4 separate regions of the Homo sapiens genome follow, and regions 2, 3 and 4 are each linked to region 1. The links are contacts of gene promoters, found by promoter capture Hi-C in blood cells and fetal thymus (Javierre and others, 2016). All regions are on one chromosome and are shown on one strand. Each heading gives the region's core, a stretch centred on a gene start or on the middle of the fragment in contact. The rest is flanking DNA. Distances are from core to core; before and after follow the strand shown. Region 1 holds the start of WDR47 (WD repeat domain 47). Region 2 overlaps STXBP3 (syntaxin binding protein 3). Region 3 overlaps AKNAD1 (AKNA domain containing 1). Region 4 overlaps ELAPOR1 (endosome-lysosome associated apoptosis and autophagy regulator 1).

Evidence for each region. Contacts are between HindIII fragments. The CHiCAGO score rates a contact against its expected background, and 5 or more counts as called.
Region 2: a fragment that was not itself captured here is called in contact with the fragment with the promoter of WDR47 in region 1 in 1 of 17 cell types (M2 macrophages); the score reaches 5.4 in M2 macrophages.
Region 3: a fragment that was not itself captured here is called in contact with the fragment with the promoter of WDR47 in region 1 in 2 of 17 cell types (erythroblasts and total CD8 T cells); the score reaches 6.6 in erythroblasts.
Region 4: a contact is called between a fragment that was not itself captured here and the fragment with the promoter of WDR47 in region 1, in 1 of 17 cell types (neutrophils). The highest score is 5.4, in neutrophils.

Annotation. Positions count from the first base shown.
Region 1 is chr1:109,040,228-109,044,696 of GRCh38, forward strand. WDR47 (WD repeat domain 47) reads right to left here and starts at 1,875. Exons shown (of 15, transcript NM_001142551.2): 1 at 1,635-1,875. RefSeq lists a silencer at 1,523-2,072. The HindIII fragment of the contact is 10,570 bases long and covers 1-4,469 here.
Region 2 is chr1:108,786,329-108,790,797 of GRCh38, forward strand. The region is part of intron 11 of STXBP3 (syntaxin binding protein 3); the gene reads left to right. Among named protein-coding and RNA genes, the nearest start is that of STXBP3, 42 kb to the left of the region's middle. The HindIII fragment of the contact is 1,690 bases long and covers 1,201-2,890 here.
Region 3 is chr1:108,827,195-108,831,663 of GRCh38, forward strand. It overlaps AKNAD1 (AKNA domain containing 1), which reads right to left. Exons shown (of 16, transcript NM_152763.5): 10 at 3,365-3,456; 11 at 11-108. All of the region lies in intron 2 of LOC105378891 (a long non-coding RNA gene), which reads left to right. Among named protein-coding and RNA genes, the nearest start is that of AKNAD1, 28 kb to the right of the region's middle. The HindIII fragment of the contact is 371 bases long and covers 2,318-2,688 here.
Region 4 is chr1:109,195,451-109,199,919 of GRCh38, forward strand. ELAPOR1 (endosome-lysosome associated apoptosis and autophagy regulator 1) reads left to right here. Exons shown (of 22, transcript NM_020775.5): 16 at 2,024-2,204; 17 at 2,529-2,625; 18 at 3,123-3,224; 19 at 4,404-4,469. Among named protein-coding and RNA genes, the nearest start is that of SARS1, 16 kb to the right of the region's middle. RefSeq lists an enhancer at 1,887-3,086. The HindIII fragment of the contact is 6,896 bases long and covers 1-4,469 here.

The DNA of each region.
Region 1 (4,469 bases), core at 625-3,124:
ATTTTTCAGCTTACTGATCTACTAAGGAAAACTGCACATCTTTTCATAACTAAAGCGTTTCTGAAACTGCAGCATACATTAAGCATTTCATATGCCGCCCATTAAATAACTAATATATTCTATTTCACAAACAGGAAAAGAGGTTGAACACCATTATGTAAGTAGTAACATAGGATAGTACCCCTGTTCTCTTATGACACATTCTTAACAGTACTGGTTTTTAAGGCGAGGGAGAAAAGAACCAGGAAGTGGACCAGTGGGAGATAAACACAGGTTAAAATCCCGTCCAAAAAAAAAAAAAAATTTACATCTTCATAATGGCATCCAAATTCAAGTGTTTGGGTTTTGGCTTTTTTACCTAACAATATACTGTTGTGACTTGACTTTTCCATTACCGTGTAATAATGTTTCTTTCCTATTGGAAGCAATCTCTCCTAATCTCCCAAACCTAAAGTAGAATTATTCATTTCATCTTCTTCCTAAATGAGACCTCGACAATATGCCATATAAAGGAAAATGGGCTCTTAGGCGTTTCTCCTTCTTAGTAAAATGCCAATGCAACATATGCCAACACTGGAGACAAAAAAATTCTACTTGAATTTACTGTGAAAAAAAGATTTATAGCATTTTTTAAACCTACATGTTCATTTCTGTGCCATTAACTTTTTGAGGCATTCTACAGAGTCTCCAACAAAGAGAGAAATAAGTATTAGGATCACAACCTACGAATCTGGGTGGAACAAAGACTTCTCCTTTCATTATGCAGAGAAAACCAAGTTGCCAAAAAAAAAAAACGGTCCCCTCAGATACCATGCACGGTTACTAACTGCACGTCTGGGTACAGAGAAGGAAAAATCATCTGGTCAAAAGCCCAAATGCCGCCCCGGCCTACCCTCGCCCCCCGCCCCCGCCCCCTTTGCCCATGGCCTCGCCCCAGAGCTAGAGTTCCAATATTTTTCTCCCCAATAAAGGGAAGCGGTTTAACCCTTTGAGTTCCACAACCTTGCGTTCTTCTACGCAGGCGCCCCTCCAGCGCAATCCCAGTTCTAAATCGAGTCGCTGCCCCTTTCCGCGACCACACCCAGATCCCCAAAGGCCTGCTCCCATCCCGACCATTGATGTGAGAAAGGCCAAAACCGGCCCCAGCGGGGCTCCCAGCCCCGCCGCTCCCTCTCTTCCTCCGGGCCAAGGCGTGCCCAGAAAGGGACGCGAGCGCGCCCCTCAGTTCTCGCACGGGCTCGACCAAGGGGCGAGGAAGGAAGAATCGGCGCAGCGGCGAGATGGGCACGAACCTCGCGCTCACTTGCTGCTCAGTGCCAGGGCGAGGGGCGTCGCTCTGCCCCCAGAATCCAACTGGTAATGTGGGAAAGGTGTGGTCCAGGACCGGTGACCTCGAACCGGGGCCCAGCAGTTCGCAGATCCTCACCCCGCGATGCTGGGGCCTCACCCACGACCCCAGCCCCCTCCCAGTCGGCACCCAAGCCCACTAAAGACCCCTCTCCGGGGCCGCAAACACAGTCCTCGGGGCCGCCCGGTCGGAGCCGTGTCAGGTGGTGACAGGAGGCGACGGGTGACCATGGCAACCCGAGGTGTGCAGCGGACCGACCCAGCCTCCGACTCCCGGAGTCACCCACCTGAGGGCTCCAGGGCAAGCCCGGAGGAGCGGCGGAGGAGAACGCGGCTGGGAGGCCGGCGGCCAGGGCCCCGAAGCGGCCGGCTCCGGGCTGCGGCAGGAGCACGACGGCGGCGGTCTGGGTTTGGCGTCGGTCCTCCCTCCTACCGCCCGCGCGTCAATCCATCAGTTCGTCAATCCGTCCTTCTCACGTCCGCCCCTCCCGGCCCAGCGACTCCTCAGCTCAGCCTCTTGCAGACTGCGGTTGTCAAGTGCCGGGGAGCCGAGCTCTACCCGCGAGCGGCAGCCAATCGCCGCGCTTCCCCGAGGCGCCTCAGGACCCCGCCGCGCGGGGCGGCCAGGCAGGTGCCTGAGCCGAAGGGCGAGTCGGCGGGGCGGGGCGGGGCGGGGAGGGGCGTGGAGGGGCGGGCCCAAAGCTGGGGCGGGGAGGGGCGGGGCGGACCAAAGCCTGGGCGGGGCGGACCAAAGCCTGGGCGGGGCGGGCGGGGGTCGGGCTTGGAGGGACCGGCTAGGGGCCCGGGGGAGTAGCAGAACGGGTGCGGCAATAGCGTGAGACTGGTGGCAGGGACGTAGACCCTTAGCTGGCCGGTGACCCCATGTCCCAAAATAGCACGAACAGGATTGTCGCCTGCAAATGGAGAAGACTGCGCATTAGGATTGACTCTTCATACTCCTCCCCGATAATTAATAAAGGTTAATGAAATTAATGTTGCCTTCTACCCTTCTTTCGCTGCTTTCCTAGGTCCCACTTCGTCCCAGAAAACTCCAGTAGTTTGTTTGTCCCCTTCCTGGTTTCTCATTTTGCAAAGCTGATCTGCCTTGAAAGCATTTTTCAGTTACTTAACATTTAATATGTTCAGGTTTTGTCTACTCCTGTTGGTTGTAAGCCCCTTATTCCACAAATATACGTGATGTTCAACCGAGCTTAATTAAGCATCCAGGAAGTATAACCATAAGGAAGAATACAATTACACAAACCTGTAAGAACATCATTCTCGGCCAGGCGCGGTGGCTCACGCCTGCAATTCCAGCACTTTAGGAGGCCGAGGCGGGCGGATCACCTGAGGTCAGGAGTTTGAGACCAGCCTGGCCAACATGGTGAAACCCCGTCTCTACTAAAAATACAAAAATTAGCCGGGTGTGCTGGCAAGCCTCCTGTAATCACAGCTACTTGGTAGGCTGAGGCAGGAGAATCGCTTCAACCTGGGAGACGGAGGTTGCAGTGAGCCGAGATCATGCCACTGCACTCCGGCCTGGGTGACAGAGCGAGAGACTCCGTCTCACAGAAAAAAGAACATCATCCTCACAGAGGCGAAAGTCCAGAGTGAGCTGGACCTCCCAAAAGGGGAAAATGGGGTAACAGTCTGGTAAAGAGAATAAACATCAAAAATATTTCTGGCACTCCCATGCTTATTGCAGTACTATTCACAATAGCCAAAATATAGAATCAACCTATGTCAATCAACAGACAAATGGATAAAGAAAATGTGGTACATATACACAATGCAATCTTTTTTTTTTTTTTTTTTTTTTGAGACGGAGTCTCGCTCTGTCGCCCAGGCTGGAGTGCAGTGGCGCCATCTCGACTCACTGCAAACTCCGCCTCCCGGGTTCACGCCATTCTCCTGCCTCAGCCTCCCGCGTAGCTGGGACTACAGGCGCCCGCCACCAGGTCCGGCTAATTTTTTTTTTTTTTTTTGTATTTTTATTAGAAACGGGGTTTCACCGTGTTAGCCAGGATGGTCTTGATCTCCTGACCTCGTGATCCACCCGCCTCGGCCTCCCAAAGTGCTGGGATTACAGGCGTGAGCCACCGCGCCCGGCCACACAATACAATCTTATTCACCCATTAAGAAAGAATGAAATCCTGTCATTTGCAGCAACATGGATGGGACGGGAGGACATTATGTTAAGTGAAACAAGACAAGCACAAAAAGACAAATATTGCACGTTCTCACACATATGTGGGAACTAAAAGAATTGATCTCGTGGAGGTAGTGAATAGAATGGTGGTTACCAGAGGCTAGAAAGTGTAGTGGAGGGCAAAGGGGGGATAAAGAGGTTAATGGGTACAAAAATACAGTTATGTAGCAGGAATAAATTCTAGTGCTCAATAGCATAATTGGGTGACTATAGTTAACAATAATCTATTCTATATTTCCAAACAGCTAGAAGAGAAGATTCAGAATGTTCCCAACACAAAGAAATAGTAAATGGCAGGCCAAGCGTGGTGGCTTATGCCTGTAATCTCAGCACTTTGGGAGGCCGAGGCGGGCAGATCACGAGGTCAAGAGGTCAAGAGATCGAGACCATCCTGGCCAACATGGTGAAACCCTGTCTCTACTAAAAATACAAAAATTAGCCGAGTGTGGTGGTGTGCGCCTGTAGTCCCAGCTACTCGGGAGTCTGAGGCAGGAGAATCACTTGAACCCGGGAGGCGGAGGTTGCAGTGAGCCGAGATTGGGCCACTGCACTCCAGCCTGGTGACAGAGCGAGACCGCGTCTCAAAAAAAAAGAAAAGAAATAATAAATGGGTGGGCACAGTGGCTCATGCCTGAAATCCCAGCACTTTGGGAGGCTTAGGCCAGAGGCTCACATGAGGCCATGAGTTAGAGACTAGCCTAGGCAACATAGTGAGACTCCCTCTCTACAAAAACAAGAATAAAAAATTAGACACGGTGAGACACACCTGCAGTCCTAGCTACTTGAGAGGCTGAAGTGAGAAGATAGTTTGAGCTCAAAGTCCGAGGCTACCATGAGCTATAATCACACTACTGCACTCCAGCCTGGGTGACTGAGTAAGACCCTGTGTCTTAATAATAATAATGCATTTCTA
Region 2 (4,469 bases), core at 796-3,295, 250 kb before region 1:
GGGGGAAACTGCCCCCATTATTCAGTTATCTCCACTTGGTCCTGCCCTTGACGCGTGGGGATTATTACAATTCAAGGTGAGATTTGGGTGGAGACACAGAGCCAAACCATGCCATTCACTCAAATTAATTTTGATTTATGGTGTGAGGTAAGGGTCTAGCTTCATTTTATTTCGATATACATATCTGATTACTCAAGCACTGTTTATTGTAAAGACCATCCTTTCACCATTGAGTTGCAGTAATGCATTTGTTGTGAATCAAGTGACCATAAATGTGTGGGTCTGTGGACTCCATGTCCTTTTCCATGGTCAATTTGTCTATCCTTGTAACAAGACCACACTGTCTTAACTAGTGTACCTTTGTAATGGTTTTGAAATTTGGTAGTATAAGTCTTCCAGCTTTGTTCTTCAAGATTGTCTCAGCTGTTACAACCTTTGTCTTTTAATACACATTTTAGATTCTGCTTGACAATTTCAACAGAAACATTTAACTGAAATTTTGATTGGGATTACATGAATCTGTACACTAATTTGGGAAGAACTGACAAAAATATTGCATCTTCTGATCCAAGAACATAGAATATAGCTCCACTTATGTAGATAGTTTATCTCAGCCGCATTTTATAATTTTCATTTTAGTGGTATTGCACATTTTTTCTTTATTTCTAGGTATTTGATTTTTTGGTGTTATAAATGGTATTTTTTAAATTCCATTTTACTTTATTAGTATATAAAATGTGATTGATTTTTGTATATTTACCTTGGATCTGGTGACCTTGCTAAATTTATTTTTTAATTCTAGTACTTTGTTTATAGATTGGCTTTTTTGTTTTTAAGAGATCGGAACTCTGTTGGCCAGGCTAGTCTCTGAATTCAAGCAATCCCCCCACCCTTGCCTCCCTAGTAGCTGGGACTACAGGCAGGTACCAGTGCACCTAGCTGGATTTTTATATACACAGTAATATAATCTGTGAATAAAGAAAATTTAGTGTCTTCCTTTCTAAATTAATCTTCCAGAGGTGTCCAAAGGAGAGAATACAGTCATGGGTTCTTAGTTTCTGTTTCGGCTAGTAAAGTCCCTTCCTTATCCCTCTTTTCCACTTATCACTAGAGACAGAAACTAAAAACCATGGCTTCAGGCTGCAAAAAGCCTAAAACAAAACAGAACAACAACAACAACAAAATAAGGTGGGTTAGACAAGCTTGTCATACGTTTAAAATTTTTTTTTTTTAGTAGTTAATACCTCCTGGTTCTGGCTGATACCTCCAGTATAACATGAAATCAAACTGGTGATAATGAGCGTCCTTGTCTCATTCCCAGCTTTATGGGAAATGAGTTCAATATTTCATCATTAAGTATTATGTTAGTTTTAGGTAGTTTTCTTTTATCAGATTAAGGATGTTCCTTTCTATTCTTAGTTTACCAACAGGTTTTTATGTGTTTCTGTTTTTTGTTTTTTTCTTTTTTCTTTTTTTTAAGAGACAGGGTCTTGTTCTGTCACCCAGGCTGGAGTGCAGTGGTGCAGTCTCAACTCACTGCAGCCTCAACCTCTTGGGCTCAAACGATCCTCCCACCTCAGGCCCCCAAGCAGCTGGAATTACAGGTGTGCACCACCATGCCCAGCTAATTTTTGTGTGTTTTTAATAGAGACAGAATTTCACCATATTGCTCAGGCTGGTCTCGAACTCCTGAGCTCAGACAATCCTCCTGCCTCAGCCTCTCGAAATGCTGAGATTACAGGCGTGAGCCACCACACCCAGCCTGTTTCTGTTTTCTTTTAATCAGGAAATTTCGATGTTGGATTTCATCAAAGGCATTTTGATATTGTCTTTTTTTCCCCTTTATTCTGTTAATGTGATGAATTACATTTATTGACTTACTAACATAAAAGTAACCATTTCTAGAATAAACTCCACTTGATCATGATGCATCATCCTTTTCCTCTATCACTGGATTTTGTTTGCTAATATTTTGTTGTAGGATATTTGCTTCTATATTTATGAGAAATACTTTTCTGTAATAGTCCTTTTTTGTAATGTTCTTGTCAGGTTTTAGCAGCAAGATTTTTTTGGTCTTATGAAATGAATTGTGATGCACACTTTGTCATTCCATTCTCTGAAAGAGTTTGTGTAAGATTGTTACTGCTTGTTCTATTGCTGCTTGAAAGAATTCACCATTGAAGCAGTTCAGGCATAGAGACTTCTTTATGGGGAGGTCTTTCGTTATAATTAATGATAAGTTATTTAATAGATATAGAACTATTTAGTTTTTTACTTTTTCTTCATTAGTTTTGGGATATCGCATTTTTCAGGGAATTTGTCTATTATATCTAAATTTTGAAATGTCCTCTTATCCTTTCAATATGTGTAGAATCTATAGTTAGATTTTATTTACTAATCTTGCTATTGTTAATTTGTTTATTCCCCTATATATTATTAATATCCCCTGCAGTCCGGGCACGGTGGCTCACGTCTGTAATCCCAGCACTTGGGGAGGCCAAGGCAGACGGATCACCTGAGGTCAGGAGTTTGAGACCAGTCTGGCCAACATGGTGAAACCCTGTCTCTACTAAAAAAAATACAAAAATTAGCCGAGCTTGATGGTGCCTACCTGTATCCCAGCTACTCGGGAAGCTGAGGCAGGAGAATTGCTTGAACCTGGGAGACGGAGGTTGCAGTGAGCCAAGATAGTGCCACTGCACTTCAGCCTGGAGAAAAGAGTGAGACTCCATGTAAAAAAAAATAAAATAAAATTCACTGCATATGTTATTAATATTTCAAAGAACCAACATTTGTCTTTGTTGATTTTCACTCTTGCATGTTTTATCTTTAATTAGCTGATTTTTACTCAGTTTTATTTCCTTCCTTCAGCTTACTTTGTTTTAAATGAAGCTTGTCCAACCTGTGGCCCATGGGTCACATACAGCCCAGGACGGCTGTGAATGTGGCCCAACACAAATTTGTAAACTTTCTTAAAACATTATGAGATGTTTTTGTGATTTTTTTTTTAACCTCATCAGCTATTGTTAGTGTATTTTATATGTGGCCCAAGACAGTTCTTCTTCCAGTGTGGCCCAGGGAAGCCAAAATATCGGACACCCCTGGTTTAAATTTTTTCTTCTAGCTTCCTGAGTTGGAGTTTTAGAACATTGATTTCCAACCTTTCTTCTGTTCTATTGTATATATTTTATAGTTATTTACATCTTCAAACTTAGCTGCATCCCAGGAGTTTTGGAATAACTTATTTTCATTTAGTTCAAAACATTTTCTAACCCTTATTATGATTTCTTCTTTGACCCATGTGTTATATAGGGAATACGTTTTTAAATTTCAAAGCATTTGGGAATTTTCTAGTTATCTTTCTGTTACTGAGTTGTAATTTAATTATACAGTGGTCAGAGAATGTGCACTATATGACATCAGTCTTTTAAAATATGTTAAGACTTGATTTATGGGGCTGGGCATGGTGGCTCGTGCCTGTAATCCCAGCACTTTGAGTGGCCAAGGCAGGCGAATCACATGTGGCTAGGAGTTCAAGACCAGCCTGGCCAACATGGCGAAACCCCATCTCTACTAAAAATACAAAAATTAGCCATGTGTGATGGCACACACCTGTGGCTCCAGCTACTCAGGAGGCTGGGCAACAGAGTGAGACTCTGTCTCAAAAAAAAAAAAAAAAAAATTGATTTCTGACCTAGCATATATTATCATAAGTGCCCTATGTGTACTTGAAAGGAATATAAATTCTGTATGTGTCAGTTAAATCAAGATGGTTAATCATGTTCAAATCTTCTATTTCTTTTCTGATTTTTTTTTACCTGCTCTGTCAGTTACTAGAAGTGGTATATTAAAAACTCTGATCATGACTGTGAATTAGTTTGTTTTTCTTTAGTCCTTTCAACTTTTGAAGTTATATTAACTGATAAAGCTATGTTAAGTTCATTATACATTTAAGATAGCTATCTTTCTGTTGAATTTGGCCTTTTATCATCATAAAATGTCCCTTTTATTACTTGCAGTATTTCTTGTCTTGAGGTCTACTTTGATGTTAATACCACTATATCTTCTTTCTTTTGTTAGTGTTTACATAGTATATCTTTTCCCATCCTTTACTTTCAACTACCTGTGTCTTGATATTTAAAATGTGCTTCTTAAAAAGAGCTTGTAGTTGAATTTTGTTTTTTTATCCAGCCCAAAAATCTTTTAATTAGAATGCTTGTTTAGTTCATATATATTTCATGTAATTATTGATATAGTTAAATTTATATCTAGTATCTTGTTTTCACTTCATTTTTTATATTCTATTCTTTTCCTTCTTTATCAAGTCTTTTTTAAAAATAAATTCCATTTCATCTCCAATATAAACATTTGTGTTTTGCCTTTAGTCCTTCCTTTAGTTATTATACTGGAAATTTAAAAATGTATTCTTACCCTAGTTTAATAGTATGTCCTGAATATGTCATGTCCTG
Region 3 (4,469 bases), core at 1,253-3,752, 210 kb before region 1:
ATCAACTTACTGGGAGTTGAATCTGAGTGTGGTGCCTTTTCATGAAGGACAATTGAAAATCTTCCACAGTTGATCCTTCCGTGGCCCTTTTTCTCCACGTTTTGCTTCCTAAAAAAAGGTGCATAAGATCCTGTAAACTTTTAGTGCATTTCCAATAGATAGGGAAAGTTTTGGTAAAGTTGAAACGTTAAATTTTGTTATATTAGAGCCTGGAACAGTGTAGGAGGGGCTTGTCATCCTCTACACAGAGCTCTCCTCTGCCTGCCTGTTTGAGAGCTTTTCTACAAGAAATTGCACCCCAGCACAATTTGGCCTGATAAGAAAATGTATACAAGACAGGCCAGGCGCGGTGGCTCACGCCTGTAATCCCAGCACTTTGGGAGGCTGAGGCGGGCGGATCACGAGGTCAGGAGATCGAGACCATCCTGGCTAACACGGTGAAACCCTGTCTCTACTAAAAGTACAAAAAATTAGCTGGGCGCCGTAGTGGGTGCCTGTAGTCCCAGCTACTCGGGAGGCTGAGGCAGGAGAATGGCGGGAACCCGGGAGGCGGAGCTTGCAGTGAGCCGAGATCGCGCCACTGCACTCCAGCCTGGGTGACAGAGCGAGACTCCTACTCAAAAAAAAAAAAAAGAAAATGTATACAAGACATGAAAAATAAATGTTTTGTTCTGCCGAGGTTAATATCTAATCATCACATACACATTCACAAAACACATTTGAAGTATGGAATTATAAAATTTGGAGTTTTCCTCATGCATCAAAATCCATTCCAGGCTGGGTATGGTGGCTCATGCCTGTAATCCCAGCACTTTGGGAGGCCAAGGAGGGTGGATGGCTTGAGACTAGGAGTTCAAGGTCAGCCAGGGCAACATGGCAAAACCTCATCTCAAAAACAAACAAACAAACAAACAAACAAACAAACAGTTCCTACCAGGGGAAGAAACTATGCTATACGTCAGTAATGGGTCACGTAGCTTTGGTCCTGGAAGTACAAGCTGATTACATCCAACAACTCCAGCAAAGTGGGCTTTGCCGGGTGTCTGTGGGACTAAAGGCTGAGGGAGCACGTGAAGGTGATTTTAGTTGCACATGGCCACCAGGTGGCGTCAGAAAGAAGCAACTGCAATGGACATTGTTCAGGAGCCTTCCTGTGGCCCACCTGCAGCTTCCTCCCTCCTCCTCAGAAATCCCAACTCCTCCAAAGGAATTCGAATTAATAACAGTTCTGAACAAAGCTCTTGCTAAGCTCCTGGGATACAGTCATAGCCCCCAGGGAAAGTTGTTCATTCTTAGTATGGAAGGCACTGTGCCCGAGATATCCTGGCATAAATGAGGCAGATTGCCCAGGGCTAGGGTTTGAGCCCAAGGCATTGCTGGGCAAACACATGCTCGCCGCGCTGTGCCCTGGCCTGCTGTTGGCGGAGAAGGGATGGGGCTGCGGGTTTGTGGGGCTGGGGCTGAGAAGCCAGGCTCTTTCCCTCCTCTTGGAAAAACATGCTGTCCTCTTGAGTCACATATTTTCTCACACCTCATTTTCTGTCTCCACCCTTCTCCTCTGGGGCATTTGAACATCTGCTCTCCAAAGTGGGAAACTTGGATCTCACTCAAGTGCATGCAGTCCAACACAGGACTTTTTCTGCTTTTAAACTCCTTTGTGTACTCAAATCTTCTGGCCAAACATAATTCCTCTGGAGAAGACAGTTTTTCAACAAGACAAAGCAGCTAAAGTACACACTTAAATCCAAAGTTTTGCATCAGAAATAACATAAAGGGATAAGCATATTTTACATTTTATACATATGTAATTTATCCACTTATATATAAACAATTTACAAATATCCTGAAAACAGTATGTACCTCAGCAAGCTTCATAAAGGACAAGTCCCATCAGAGAGAGATTTAATCTTCTAACAGAAAGAATATATAGTCCTCCCTTCAATCAATAATTCCTCAGGGATTATGTAAGTTACAAGATTTTAATTCATAAGTCATGTGTATCTTCTCATCACTCCCCAGCAGTGGATTCACTGTGAGATTTGATTTTACACTTGGTTGTGCTTGTCTTTCCAGCTTGTCTATCATAAAAAAGTATTATTTAGTCTGGAACATTGGTCCCTGTCTTGGTACTTAATGTACTTCTGTAGGGTCTAGACTAGGAATTTAGAAGAGAGAAATTTAGTACCTTGAGTGCTTAATAAAAATGGTTCTTTAATGTCAAAATACTTTCATTATACTTAGTAAAACCTTTAAAAATCCAAAATTAGACTTTAATTCAATAAATAAAAATAGTAGGCCTGGGATGACTCAGTGAGTAAGCTTCATGAGTGCCCCTTGGATTAAAGGGCAGCTCAAAGCTGATGACTGACATGGTGGTTTAATGACCCACACACAATGACACATGACCATTTTTAGCACGAGCTTCATGCAGTTTCTTTTTTCAGGGGTGGACACTCATTAGAACTCTTAAGGCAGGTGCCCATTCCCACAATGGAATGCTTTCTAACAGGAAGCCTCAGTCTTTCAGACCCTGTCATCTGCTTCTATTAGAATCCATTACGTACATATAACAGTGGTTGCTAAACACCTGCTGCCTCCCTGACTCTTGACCTTCCAAAGGTCAATGAGCCGAGCTTTGGCCGGAGTCCACAGTGAGCTTAGAGGTAACATCTCTCGCTACCTGAAAGAAGCTTCAAATAAATGATACTGAATCGACACAGATTAATAGTTGCACCAATGGGTGTTTCAAAAACAAAGGATTTCTCCTGAGGATTTTACATGATTTACAGCTTGTTAGCTCTGGAAGATTTCGTCCTTAGGAATGGGAAGAAATCAGCCCTGAGAAGAGGGATGAGGCTTGTTCCTGGGACTGGGGGGCTCAGGTGAAACCCAACAGAGAAGACTTTTGCTCATCATAAGGAGAGAGTAGGGATGGTGGGAGCTGTTTGTTATACAGGATAAGAATCCCCCATGTGGGCAATGATCAAAAGCCTACAGGACCACCCTCCGTGGGCTGTAACCATGATTCTTAACCAAGGGGGCTTATCGGAATCACCTGGGGAGATTTAAAAGCAATATTCCTACCAGAGCCCCACCGCTGGCGATGCTGAGACAGTAGGTGGGATGGAGGCATGTGCATGATTGTAAAATCTCCCATGGTGATTTTGATGGTCTCCCCAGTTGAGGACCACTGCTAGAGGATCTGTAGGGTGCGAGGGAGGCTGGGCTCTGTGCCCAGGCCTGAGATCTGTGACTCTATAACTCAGCCAGTGGCCTCAGTTAGTTGCCGCCCACTCTCACTGGAGTTACTATGCCAGGACTGACTCCAATCCACCCTGGGAATGTAGCCACAAGAAGCCCTCACCATTCAAGGAGCCTGCGACAGAAGGCACAGCTCGGACTGGGTGCCGTCATCTCTGCACAATCCTGCCTTCTTGGAGTGCCGTTGGGATCCTCCTGCGCCACAAAGCACACAGATGGAGATGTGATAGAGGATGTGACTCACGCCGCGGCTGCACACGCACAGCCCAGCAAGCAGCTGAGGTCCGGCTGAACTTGCCACCTCAGGCAGAGAGACTCGCCAAACCTCTCCTCCAGTTGGGGAAAGGGAGGCGCAGGGGGACAGGAGGGAAAGAAGAAAGAGCCCATCCTTAGTTCTGATGTGTCACTCAGTCGGGGCTGCGCCTCTAATGGCCTGGGCTGAAGAATGGAAGTTTCCACCCTGGCTTGCTTCCTTCCTCCTCTAAACAGATTTTAAAATCTGGTGTACAGATGACAGAATACTCTCCCCTTTTTATCTTTCCCTTAGTTTCAAATTACTCCAAGCTTCGCCAGATAATGAACAGATTTAGGAACATAATTTTTAGATCTATTAATCTGACCGCTGGCTAGTAGAGCTCTAAAAGCCTTTCTAAATAAATATATTCAACTATGAATTAAAACAGGGTTTAGGGACTGTCTGGGGGCCTAAATGATTGGTTATATGTCCCTCTTTAACACAAAACAATTACTCCACTGACCTGTGAGGGCTGTTACCACCCACTGTGTATTTTTGACTAAGGTCTTACCCTTTATGTAAGTAAAAAATAAATGTACTTTTCCCATCATTATAAACAATGGCAGAAGCATCATTGTACACATAGCTTTTTCCACATCTTGGATTACTTCCTGAGGAAATGTCTGGGCCAAAGGTTGCGAACATGTTTGTGTGATGACCCATATTGCCAAATTGCTTTCCACAAAAGTTGTACAGATTTCACAGCCACCAACAGTGTGGACGGCTCAGTTTGACCACACCTTCCTCTGCATCAGGAATTATCACTTGAAAATGTTTCTGTTAATTGAAGGGAGGGGTGTGTCACCTTTTGTGTTAATTTGCATTTCCTCTGTGACTAAAGGAAATAAGTCTGTTCCTATATGCTGATTTATTGGTTGTATTTCCTACCTGTGACTTTTTTTTTTTTTTTTGA
Region 4 (4,469 bases), core at 1,280-3,779, 160 kb after region 1:
GCCACTACACTCCAGCCTGGGCGACAGAGTGAGACTCCGTCTCAAAAAAAAAAAAAAACAAAAAAGCAAAAAACAAAACAAACAAAAAAAACCCCAGAAATATGCAGAAGGAAAGGTTTTTTTCCCTTGCTTGAAAAAGCAGTCTTCAGCAATCACTGCATTTGTCGCTTGTTTTCTAGAGGCTGGATAAAATCAACTGTTTCTAGTTCATCCACACGTCTCTTTGCTGACAGTATGAAAGAAAGTAACATGAAATGCTTTATAAGGAAAGATTGTCACCATCAGCCATTTCATGCTGCTGCAAATATTTCAGATCCAAAATTCAAAGGCAGAAATGCAAAGGTTAATCCCACCACTGCACTTGATTAAATTGCAACAAGCCACAATTAGCAGTTGGAAAGTTCATTTCAAATGTTACAAAAGAGGCTGGGCATGGTGGCTCACGCCTGTAATCCCAGCAATTTGGAGGCCAAGGCAGGCAGATCACCTGAGGTCTGGAGTTCGAGACCAGCCTGGTCAACATGGTGAAACCCTGTTTCTACTAAAAATACAAAAATTAGCCCGGCATGGTGGCACACATCTGTAATCCCAGCTACTCGGGAGGCTGAGGCAGGAGAATTACTTGAACCCAGGGGGCGGAGATTGCAGTGAGCCAAGATCATGCCACTGCACTCCAGCCTGGACAACACAGCAAGACTCCATCTAAAAAAAAAAGTGACAATATAAAGAGCATCTTGAGCATCTAGTCTTTGACTCTGTTGGTGGTAAGGCCTTTACATCATAGAGCTCTGACCCATCTTCTGCAGCATGCAAAGAAGTCGATGGGTGTTTATAAAGAGAACATGTCAAGAAATAAACTAATCTATGAAAGATTAGAGATAGGTGTCTCTATCTTGTTTTCAGAAGTCTTCGAAGAAGTTAAAATGAAGCCTCAGAAGTAACAGGTCATGATCACTTAGGAAATAAGACTGATTAAAGCAGGCTTCATGTAGCAAAAGTGTCATTCAGTGAATTATGGAGAGCAATGAAGGTGGGGAATTTGGGGAAATGGTGTATTTTTTTATCTACTCCTTTCCTGTTTAGAAATGCTTATGATGTACTGCCACACGATAGATCCTTAGTTCAAAGACAAAAGAACTCTATTTTATTGTAATGTAAAGGTTTTCTTCAGTTTTCAAGCTCATCTACTTCCTACAATCTAGAAAAAAAAAAAAAGGCTGAGACACCAGATTTAGCACTTTTTTTTTTTTTGAGGTGGAGTCTCACTCTTTTGCCAGGCTAGAGTGCAGTGGCACGATCTCTGCTCACTGCAACCTCCGCCTCCCAGGTTGAAGCGATTCTCCTGCCTCAGCCTCCCGAGTAGCTGGGACTACAGGCATGCGCCAGCACGTCCAGCTAATTTTTGTGTTTTTAGTAAAGACGGGGTTTCACCACGTTGGCCAGGATGGTCTCAATCTCTTGACCTCATGATCCACCTGCCTCGGCCTTCCGAAGTGCTGGGATTACAGGTGTGAGTCACTGCACCCAGCCAGCACCATTTATAATAAAATTTATAACATTGAAAATGTTGACTGGGCACAGTGGCTCACCCCTGTAATCCCAACACTCTGGGAGACTGAGGCAGGAAGATTGCTTGAGCCCAGGAGTTCAAGACCAGCCTGAACAACACAGAGAGGCCCTATCTTTACGAAAAAAAAAAAAAAAAATTAACCTGCGGTTCCAGCTACTTAGGAGGCTGAGGCAGGAGGATCACTTGAGCCCAGGAGTTCAAGGCTTTAGTGAGCTATGATTGCACCATTGCACTCCAGCCCGGGCAATAGATCAAGACTCTGTCTCAAAAAGACAAAACAAAACAAAAAAATCAAATCTGTCTCGTCATTAGACCTGGGATGAATCATTCCCCTACAACATACCATTGAAACGCTGAAAATTTAGATGTAAAAAAGCCTTCCCTATTCCCTTCTGGGAATTCCTCTGTGACCACTCACTTCTTCCTACTTCTTCCTCCCCACTCCCCAACCAGGGTAGGAAAATGTCTGTGTGCACCGACAATGTCACTGACCTCCGGATTCCTGAGGGTGAGTCAGGGTTCTCCAAATCTATCACAGCCTACGTCTGCCAGGCAGTCATCATCCCCCCAGAGGTGACAGGCTACAAGGCCGGGGTTTCCTCACAGCCTGTCAGCCTTGCTGATCGACTTATTGGTGAGTAACTCCGCTGCCTCAGCCTTGTTTGAGAGTGTGTGTGTGTGTGTGTGTGTGTGTATGTGTAAGAGAGTGTGAGGTTACCAGTCTGGGAGGTAAAAGGCCCCACATGAGGGGCCCAACCTCTTGACCTGTGTTTTCTATTCCACTCTGTGTGCAAAGTGCTCCCAGGGACTCTGACAAACCCTTGTTTCACCCTTTCATAAGCCACTCAGGGATGTGATGAGATGAAGTGAGGTTGGATGTTGACAGGTATTGGAAGAATTGAAGTGGTTGCCAGCTAATGCTACTAGTGAGAACTAATTAGGAGCTCTAATTTGGCAGGGGTGACAACAGATATGACTCTGGATGGAATCACCTCCCCAGCTGAACTTTTCCACCTGGAGTCCTTGGGAATACCGGACGTGATCTTCTTTTATAGGTGAAGATGAGAGGCTAGGCTAATGCAAGTGAAACCTAGGACTCCTCCATAATTTCTGCTGCATCCCTCCCTCTCTAGCCACCTACTGCTTATCAAGCCAGAACATGTCTGAGGTCTAGCAGATCTGCCCAGTCATGATAGCTAAGGGCTGGGAGTTCCTGATCCCAGCTTCCTGGATATTACTGGAGCAGATCTGCCCTAGAGGCAAGGAGAAATATTGGATGATCTGCAGTGGACTTCCCTTCCAGCCTAAGCAGGCTCCAGTGTATGCTAGCCATGACTTTCCTAAACCAGGGCATTTCCCCCTTGACTACATATTGTTGATCCCCACCCTTTCCACGTATAAACCAAGGCCTGTGCACTCCCTGTGTGCCAGGCTAAAGCCCAAGTCCTGACTTCCCCAGCAAGGGAATTGCTCCATGCGGATTTCTCTTGGTGGCTGTCCAATAACACAGCTGAGTGACTCATTCCCTCATGGGGGCTGGCTTTCTCTGCAGGTCCAATGATGTGACCCAGTCCTGCAGTTCTGGGAGATCAACCACCATCCGCGTCAGGTGCAGTCCACAGAAAACTGTCCCTGGAAGTTTGCTGCTGCCAGGGTAAGCCCTGCAAAGGGATGTAACAAAGGCCAAAATCTCCCTTGAAGTCATTCCATCCTGAGATCCAGAGATTACTGAAAAAGAGCAAAAAAGAAAAGAGTTTGAGATCCATTAATGGGTGCTTAGGGGCACAGTCATGGCCCCAGACCCTCAGTCTTCATATGGCAAGAATGGGGTAGAAGGAAGAGTGAAAGCTATTCTCATATTCCTGGTCCATTAAGGCAGCAGCTGCGTAGCATGGTAACCAACAGCTCGGCTGAGAGCCAGGTTGAATCATCTCCTCCACTAACCAGCTATGTTATCATGGATGCATTTCTTACCTTCTTTAGGCCTCTTTTTTCCATATCTGTAAAAATGGGCATAATGCTAAATTCCCTCAGCGGGTTGTTTTGAGGATTAAATGAGACAAGGAGACTTTAGGACGTTTCATGATCTCTGGCTATTATGAGGATTAGTAAAGGTTTAGGGATCCTAGGAATCTCTCTGCAACGAAAATACCCAGTTCTGAGGTTAATAGCTGAGTGAACTAAATCAAAAATTTCTAAATGAATATGACCACAGGACACCCCCTCCCCTCCCCGCATAACAGCAGCTAACATCTTGACGGGCACTAGCGTCTTGAGGAAGACGTTTTGGATATGCTGCGCCTAAACTGACTGGGGAGATGGGGAGCAAAGCAGGGCGTCTTGACCCAGTAGTGGTGTCTGAGTGTCAAATCCCTGTTCTTGCCATTGTAAACATCACAGTAAAGTACATAACAGGTATCCATACCGGAAGTTCATTCCTGAACCCCACCTCAACTCCAATCCCACCCCGAGGAAGCTGCATCAAAGTGGCTATTGCAAAATGTCACAAGTCTGTGGGGAGGACAGGAACCTCAAAGGGGTTGATGAGACAGCCATGCTGGAGCTCAGACACCTTACAATAGCTCTCATAAGATGTCAGCAAAAACATAAACGGGCAGAGGGTGGGGAGCCCACTGGAGGCCAGGAAGGCCTCTTATCAGTGAAATCAGAGATCAAAACCTGTGTTAAGGACTAGTTGGAAGGATCCTGGTAGGGCTAATGGTTTGGGCAGGGAGAGGGTAAATCAGGCAAGCTATGAGACAACAGGCTTCCAACCAGATCTTCCCCACCCCTCCAGCGAGTGAGAGCTCAGGTCTCTTTTCTGCTTTGCTAGAACGTGCTCGGATGGGACCTGTGATGGCTGCAACTTCCACTTCCTGTGGGAGAGCGCGGCTGCTTG